3 separate regions of the Homo sapiens genome follow, and regions 1 and 3 are each linked to region 2. Evidence: promoter capture Hi-C in human tissues and cell types (Jung and others, 2019). All regions are on one chromosome and are shown on one strand. Each heading gives the region's core, a stretch centred on a gene start or on the middle of the fragment in contact. The rest is flanking DNA. Distances are from core to core; before and after follow the strand shown.

The links. Contacts are between HindIII fragments. The study calls those that stand out against the background at their distance.
Region 1: a fragment that was not itself captured here is called in contact with the fragment with the promoter of STAC3 in region 2 in 2 of the 25 tissues and cell types used here (bladder and liver).
Region 3: a fragment that was not itself captured here is called in contact with the fragment with the promoter of STAC3 in region 2 in 1 of the 25 tissues and cell types used here (adrenal gland).

What each region holds. Positions count from the first base shown.
Region 1 is chr12:57,120,949-57,123,648 of GRCh38, forward strand. No RefSeq gene overlaps it. Among named protein-coding and RNA genes, the nearest start is that of LRP1, 6.2 kb to the right of the region's middle. The HindIII fragment of the contact is 4,651 bases long and covers 1-2,700 here.
Region 2 is chr12:57,249,912-57,252,611 of GRCh38, forward strand. It overlaps STAC3 (SH3 and cysteine rich domain 3), which reads right to left and starts at 1,276. Exons shown (of 12, transcript NM_145064.3): 1 at 1,082-1,276. The HindIII fragment of the contact is 9,667 bases long and covers 1-2,700 here.
Region 3 is chr12:57,070,986-57,074,013 of GRCh38, forward strand. NEMP1 (nuclear envelope integral membrane protein 1) reads right to left here. Exons shown (of 9, transcript NM_001130963.2): 2 at 1,803-1,927. Among named protein-coding and RNA genes, the nearest start is that of NEMP1, 6.3 kb to the right of the region's middle. The HindIII fragment of the contact is 5,784 bases long and covers 1-3,028 here.

The sequences.
Region 1 (2,700 bases), core at 14-2,513, 130 kb before region 2:
ATATTGCCTAGGCTGGTCTGAAACTGCTGACCTCAAGCGATCCTCCCACCTTGGCCTCCCAAAGTGCTGGGATTACAGGCGTGCACCACTGCACCTAGCCTCGAGTACCTTTCATATGCTTATTGTCCATTCATTGGGTTGTCATTTTATTACTATGTTATAGGAATTTTTAATATATCTCGCATTCCTCTGTCCCTTCTCAGATCAATGTTTTGTCTATCTATTTGGCTTACTTCCACATTTTCATAATAATGTCTTTTTTTTTTGAGTCAGGGTCTCACTGTCACTCAGGCTGGAGTGCAGTGGCACAATCAACTCACTGCAGCCTCTAACTCCTGGGCTCAAGCAATCCTCTCTTCTCAGCCTCTGGAGTAGCTGGGACTACAGGTGCACACCATCACACTCGGCTAATTTTTTAAATTTTTTGTAGTGACAGAGTCTAGCTTTGTTGGCCAGGCTGGTCTCAAACTCCTGGCCTCAAGCAGTTCTTCTATGTCAGCCTCCCAAAGTGCTGGGATTACTCCATAATGATGTCTTCTGACGAGCAAAAGTTTTCTATTTTGATGTTTCACTTATCAAGAAATTTATGTTATTGCTTTCTATAGCTTAAGAAGGGGTTGCTTTCCTCCAAATTATGAAGATATTCTGTGTTTTTGTCTAAAAGCTTTATGATTTTAGCATTTGTGGTTTAGGTCTATAATCAATCTTTTTTTTTAGACGGAGTCTCGCTCTGTCACCCAGGCTGGAGTGCAGTGGCGCGATCTCGGCTCACTCCACCCTCCACCTCCTGGGTTCAAGCAATTCTCCTGCCTCAGCCTCTTGAGTAGCTGGGATTACAGGTGCCCACCACCACACCCAGCTAATTTTTGTATTTTTATTTTTTTAATTAATTAATTTTTTTGACACAGAGTCTCGCTGTCACTCAGGCTGGAGTGCAGTGGTGTGATCTCAGCTCACTGCAACCTCCGCCTCTCAGGTTCAAGCGATTATCCTGCCTCAGCCTCCTGAGTAGCTAGGATTACAGGCATGCACCACCATGCCCAGCTAATTTTTGTATTTTTAGTAGAGACAGTGTTTTGCCATGTTGGCCAGGCTGGTCTTGAACTGAGCTCAGATGATCCACCCGCCTTGTCCTCCCAAAGTGCTGAGATTACAGGTGTGAGCCACCATGCCTGGCCTGTTAATTGTGTATTTTTAGTAGAAACAGAGTTTCACCATGTTGGGCAGGCTGGTCTTGAACTCCTGACCTCTGGTGATTCAACTGCTTCAGCCTCCCAAAGTGCTGGGATTACAGGTGTGAGCCACTGGGCCCAGCCTATAATCAATCTTGAATTAATTTTTGCATATGGTGTGAGGTAGGGGTCAAGGTTCATTTATTTCTCCCATATAGATATGAAGTTGTTCCATAACTATTTATTGAACAGACATTCCTTTCTCCACTGGCTGGCTTTGACATCTTTGCCAAAATCAAATGACCTTTACAGTGGGATCAGCCAGTTGGTGCAATACGAAGTCCCGCCTCTCATCCCCTCACAGAAACACAGATTTAACAATTTACTGATCAAAATACCTTTATGAGAAGTACAGAATCCGGTTGAGAAGTGTGGTACCCCAGACAAGTAGAGAGCTGAGAAAAGCTGCACTGAGATGGATCCTACATTCCTGGGTCTGGGAGTGGGCCTTTCCCAGAGATACCATCCTCCAGCAGTAAGAGACCTCCAATAGTCGGGTCTCAGACAGGTTCCAGCTAAGAGTAAAATCCCAGATCAATGGTGAAAAGGAGTTTAAGAATGGATGCTGAAGCCAGGCATGGTGGCATGTGTCTGTAGTCCCAGCTACTTGGGAAGTTGACAGGGGAAAATAGTTTAAGCCCAGGAGGTTGAGGCTGCAGTGAGCTATGATCATACCACTGCACTCCAGACTGGGCAACAGAGCAAAACTCTGTCTCAAAAAGAAAAACGAAGCCTGTGCCTAGTCAACATTGAAGCAAGAATGCAGAAGTTGCACAGGGTGAGATAGGGATGAGCAGGGTGGAGGGGTGGTAAACACAAAGGAATTGCAATAAGAAATCAAACAACTATCTGATTTTTTAAAATTATGTTGAGATATTTGGGGAAAATGATAGATGCATAGAAAACTAATCAAACGAAAAATAATTCCAAGATAAAAGTATATAAAAGTAACATTATAAAATAATAAACGCATATAGAATTTTTATTAAAAAATCAAATGATTGTGAGTCTATTTCTGGTTCTCTATTCTGCTCCATGGATCTGTTTGTCAATTCTCATGCTAGCACCACATAGTCTTGATTACTGTCACTTACAAGTCTTGAAATCAAGTAGCATAAATCCTCCAGCATTGATTCATTTATTTTTCTTTTTGAGACAGGGTTGCACTCTGTTACCCAGGCTGGAGTGCAGTGGCATGATCATGCAGTGATCAGGTTCACTGCAGCCTCAACCTCCTGAGCTCAAGCAATCCTCCCACCTTAGTCTCCTGAGTAGCTGGGCCTACAGATGCATGCCACCACAGCACTGGGATTTTTAAAAACTCTCCAGGTGATTCTAATGTGAGCCAAATTTTCTAGACTCAGATTTCTCTGTCACTATCTTCAGGCCTATACAGTTAACTGGTTAGTATACTAGATCCTACTTCTTTATTGTTTCTGAATCCTCTTCCTCTCCAGCTCCATCACTC
Region 2 (2,700 bases), core at 26-2,525:
GGCTACTTTTTTATTTTTTGTAGAGACATGGTCTTGCTTTGTTGCCTAGGCTGGTCCCGAACTAGCTCAAGCAATCTTCCTGTTTCAACCTCCCAAATTGTTGAGACAGGCGTGAGCCACTGCACTGGGCCAAATACAGATCCTTTGGCAGGTTTTATTAACAGATTTCATGGAGGTCTAGAAAAAAGCTTAACATGGCCGGGTGTGGTGGTGCATGCCTGTAATCCCAGCACTTTGGGAGGCTGAGGCAGGCGGATCACTAGAGATCAGGAGTTCAAGACTAGCCTGGCCAACATGGTGAAACCCCATCTCTACTAAATATATAAAAATTAGCCGGGTGTGGTGGCGGACGCCTGTAATCCCATCCACTCAGGAAGCTGAGGAAGGATAATCGCTTGAACCCGGGAGGCGGAGGTTGCAGTGAGCCGGGATTGTGCCACTGCCCTCCAGCCTGGGTGACAGAGCAAGACTTCGTCTCAAAAAAAAAAAAAAAAAAAAAAAAAAAGCCCAACAGACTAAAGAGCTTCCCAATTAGTTCCTCAAACTGATACTCATCCTTCCATCCTGAGGGGCGACCCCATAGTTTACAGCCCTTACACAGTGTTCAAAGCTGCGTGGTTTACGTCATTTTCCTATAGGTACTTTGTTTCTCCTGGAAATCTGTGGGCAACAGAGATGTGATGCATACCTTCCCAGATCTCCTCTCTTCAAGAGGTTTAATGTGTGTCCTCGTGTGCACACAAGGAAGGATGGACTGGAGACATTTGTCCTCCCCTACTTTTTTCTTGAGCCCTGGGGGCCCTGTGCCTAGTTCTGTCCCAGCCTGCCTCAGGGCTCAGCTATTTTAAGTTTTCAGGGTAATATGAGCCTTTCCTTCCCTTACTACTTCATTCCCTTCACCCCACCCCCACCCCCACCCCCCGCTTCAATCCAAACTCATCCTAGAGTAGAATAATAATTTTACGCCTAAAACCCAAAAGACTCACAGACAAGGAGAGAAATGAAGAAGCTGAGTAGATTATAGATCAGGGCAGCTGGGGTGAGCAGTCGTGGAAATCAAGAGGATGAAGAGGTAACTTACGTTCGGGATTCCCTAAGTCAGTCCACAGGCTGTAGAGGGAGCTGGGAGCCTCGAGGCCTTGATGGTGGTGCTGGGGAAAAACTGGTCCTCTTCCTTGGGGGCTAAGCCCCCCCAGTACCCCCTGTGTTCACACCAGCTACCCAGTCGCTATTTGTAGACCTCCTAGCCTCCTGCCTTGGTGTCAGGGCTGAAATGACAGGGCTGGAGGAAAGTGGACAGCTGAGAAACACAGCTGACACAGAGAAATTGGACACTGAGAGGTCTGGGGCAGGGCCGGACCCTAACTCCTCCCAACCCCCTAGAGCTGCTGTTCCTTGATTCTTCATCTAAGGCGAACAGGTGAATAATGGCTGAATTCAGGAAGGGACAGTTTCTGTTCATGCTCATTTAACATTTAAGGGGAGTTTATTTTTATTTTTCATTTATTTTTTGAGACAGGGTAAAAAAAGACTAATTTGAACTCATAGAGCTCTCCTATCAGCCATACTAGATGGCTTTTTTTTTTTTTTTTTTGAGACAGAGTCTTGCTCTTGTTGCCCAGGCTGGAGTGCAATGAAGCGATCCGGGCTCACTGCAACCTCCCAGGTTCAAGCGATTCTCCTGCCTCAGCCTCCTAAGTAGCTGGGATTACAGGCGCCCACCACCACGCCAAGGTAATTTTTGTATTTTTAGTACAGATGGGGTTTCACCATGTTGGCCAGGCTGGTCTCGAACCCCTGACCTCAGGTGATCCGCCTGCCTTGGCCTCCCAAAGTGCTAGGATTACAGGTGTGAGCCACCGTGCATGGCTAGATTGCTTTTTATCTGTAGGTGGTTGGAGGAGTACTTTGCTATCCTGTAAGAAAGTGAAGAATATGTAGTATTGCTTCATTCCCTCCAGCAGCTCCCAGAGACATCTCCCCACCCTCCTTCTTGTAAAATTTTGTCCTCAGACTGAAGGGAATTACCAGGGCTATTAAAAAGGGCCAGTTAACACTGGACAGAAGCATATAGCTGCCACATAAGGAATTTTTTAAATCATTTCTAAGTAATGTCCCCTTCCTCATGAGAACTGCAAACTCTTAAAGGTAGGATGGCCAACCCTCACACTTCCTAAACCCTTTTGATTCCCTGATTCCATCTCCCACCTTTGATGCCTCAGTATATAACTGATGGATCAAAGAGACAGATGCCATTCTCATCTCACAGGGGTGCACCCTTCTACTCTTTGGGCTGTGACATGGATGAAAGAGGAGATACTCCCATCTCAGGGGAGAGCAATTTAGAGGTGGCAATGCAGTGCTGCTCTATTCCTTGTATCTGTAAGAAATAAAGGACTGTGTTGGAGACTGGGTCAGGCAAGCTCCTGTAGGATCGTCGTTAGGGATACAGCTACTTGGACCCAAGAGATTTCCAGGGCAACGTGCTTTGTCATTCTCACCCACTACTTTTTTCTATTTAAGGGGGGAGTTTGAAAAGGGGGTGCAGGATGGTTCTGACTCTGCAGGTTCTTTAATGGCCCTGCTCTGACAGGCTGCAGAACAACAGGGCTTGCTTTGAGATGCTCTAAAGGAAAAGCTCCATCTTGCAGGCAAGATGACTTCTGCTCTTCGTCTTTTTTCAGCCACATAGGACAGGGA
Region 3 (3,028 bases), core at 259-2,758, 180 kb before region 2:
ACCAAATCAGTAATGGTGCCAGTTTTCCACAAAGCTTATCAGAAATATAGAAATACAGTGGCTAAAACATAATTGGGCAAATAACACTGCACATGTTACAGAGAGACAGCTGTTAGAATACCTTCTTGTTAACATGATCTGAATCTACTATTAGGGCAGAACATAGAGGGAAAAAAGACTTCCAAACTGAAAGAGTTATCAATACAGCTATTTATTAGAGATCACACAAAGCAAAGGTCTATAATATTAAGAAAATTGCCAGGCATAAACTGCCCCAGAAAACTAAAAATGTTTTCCGTAATGACAGGCTGAGTTCAATCCATTGTCACAAGCCACTGATTATGAGTAAATGTTGGTTATAATGTGCCCCAGATGGAGTATCACTTTTTTATCAGATAATTTTTTTTTTTGAGATGGAGTCTCGCTCTGTCGCCCAAGCTGGAGTGCAGTGACATGACTTCAGCTCACTGCAACCGCCACCTCCTGGATTCAAGCGATTCTTCTGCCTCAGCCTCCTGAGTAGCTGGGACTACAGGGTGTGCGCCACCATGCCCAGTTAATTTTTGTATTTTTAGTAGAGACGGGGTTTCACCATATTGGCCAGGCTGGTCTCGAACTCCTGACCTCAAGTGATTTGCCCGCCTCAGCCTCCCAAAGTGCTGAGATTACAGGCATGAGCCACTGCGCCCGGCTTGTCAGACATTTTTTTTAAAGAATTTTTTTTAAAAATCCACAAGTTGGCTGGGCATGGCCCCCAGCTACTCAAGAGGCAGAGGTTGCAGGGAGCCGAGGTCGTGCCACTGCACTCCAGCCTGGGTGACTGAGCGAGACTCCGTCTCAAAAAAAAAAAACAAATCCACAAGTCCACCCTTATGTTTTTGATGTGAACAACAAATGTCCTTATCAGTAACTATGCTTATAACAACTACGACATTTCTGAAAGGACCTATTTTGTACAATCACTGTTACAGCCAGACATTCCTGTTTGCCAGGTGACTTAACAGTGTTATGAAATAAATGAGACCAAAGTAATTCTTCAGCTCGGGGGTTTATGAAATATCTCATATAGAATCAGAATAGGAACAGTGGGGCAAAAGAGTTTACATCCTCACAGGCACATAACAGTTTCCAGCCCAAAGAAGGCATAAGGCCTTTAAAAAGAAAGAAGGGGGCTGGGTGCGATAGCTCATGCCTATAATCCCAACACCTTGGGAGGCCAAGGTGGGCAGATCACCTGAGGGCAGGAGTTTCAGACCAGCCTGGCCAACATGATGAAACCCCATCTCTACAAAAAATACAAAAAAATTGGTCAGGTGTGGTGGCGTATGCCTGTAATCCCAGCTACTTGGGAGGCTGAGGCAGGAGAATCGCTTGAACCCGGGAGGCAGAGATTGCAGTGAGCCAAGATGGTGCCACTGCACTCCAGCCTGGGCGACAGAGGGAGACTCTGCCTCAAAAAATAAAAAATAAAAATAAAAAAAGAAAGAGGGGTATGTGTGCGTGCACACACACATACTGCAAAATGAAGGACAAGAAAACAAAGCAGTTTCTTTGGGAAAAGGAGGGAGGAGGAAAGAAGTTTACCTTAGAATACCGTAATCTACTTGAGGGAGCAGAGAGGAATACAAAGTAGGCATAAATGCTTATTGATGAAAACACAACTCAGGATAATCTCAACCCTAACAAGATTGTTAACAACATTTTTTTTAAGCATGTGAAGGGGAAGAAAGTGTCAAAATACTCACTAATCACCAACAGAAATTTACAGAAGCTGCCACTGCCAGAGGATTCCAAGTTATTACCTGTATCCGTGTCCATATATCATGCCATTTTGGGATAAGCACATTTGTGTAACAGAATTGTTGGCTGGCACGCTTTTCACAAACTTGGGATTCCTGAAGCATGACCACATTTACATCAGTTTCAGCTTTATGCAAAGAAAGGAAACAAGAATTAAACATAACAAGCTAATAACTATAACTCATTTCATGAAAAAGATTAAACTAACCATTTTCCTAAACTTTGGGTTAAAACATTAGCCAGACTGAGAAATAAGAAAAAAAACTGAGAAGAAGGAAGAACTAAGGCAGAATCTTATTTCTGTCGTTTAATTATTTAAATATTACACAGTCATTCAGTCAGAAAAGTAATAATAAAAACTACTATTAAGTATCTATTTTTTTTTTTTTTTGAGACAGTCTCGCTCTTTTGCCCAGGCCGGACTGCAGTGGGGCTATCTTGGTTCACTGCAAGCTCCGCCCCCTGGGTTCACGCCATTCTCCTGCCTCAGCCTGTAGCTGGGACTACAGGCGCCCGCCACCGTGCCCGGCTAATTTTTTTTTTTGTATTAAGTATCTATTAAGACAGTATGCTGCCAGGCGCGGTGGCTCATGCCTGTAATCCCAGCACTTTGGGAGGCTGAGGTGGGCGGATGACCTGAGGTCAGAAGTTTGAGATCAGCCTGACCAATATGGAGAAACCCCCCCGTCTCTACTAAAATACAAAAACATTAGCCAGGCGTGGTGGCACATGCCTGTAATCCCAGCTACTCGAGAGGCTGAGGCAGGAGAATCACTTGAACTTGGGAGGCGGAGGTTGAGGTGAGCCGAGATCACGCCATTGCACCCCAGCCTGGGCAAAAAGAGCAAAACTCTGTCTCAAAAAAATAAAAAATAAATACATAAATAAAAGAGACAGTATGCTGTCTCATTTAATGCTCCCAACAATGCTATGAGGTAAGCACTCTCATAATCCCTATTTTATAAATGAGGAACTGATGTTTAAGAAAGATTAAGTAATTTGCTCCAAAATCACACAAATAGTAAATAGCCTATCTGAGATTCACCCCCAGGTCTGACTATGGTCTTAAACACTAGATATACTTCCTGTCCTATAAAGGAATAAAGTAAGCTAAACTACTCCATCTGTTGATTTTCTCTATCCCTTTCCTGAGTAGAACAGAATTGGCAGGTTTTTTATTTTATTTTTTTATTTTTTTTTTGAGACAGGGTCTGGCTCTGCTGCTCAG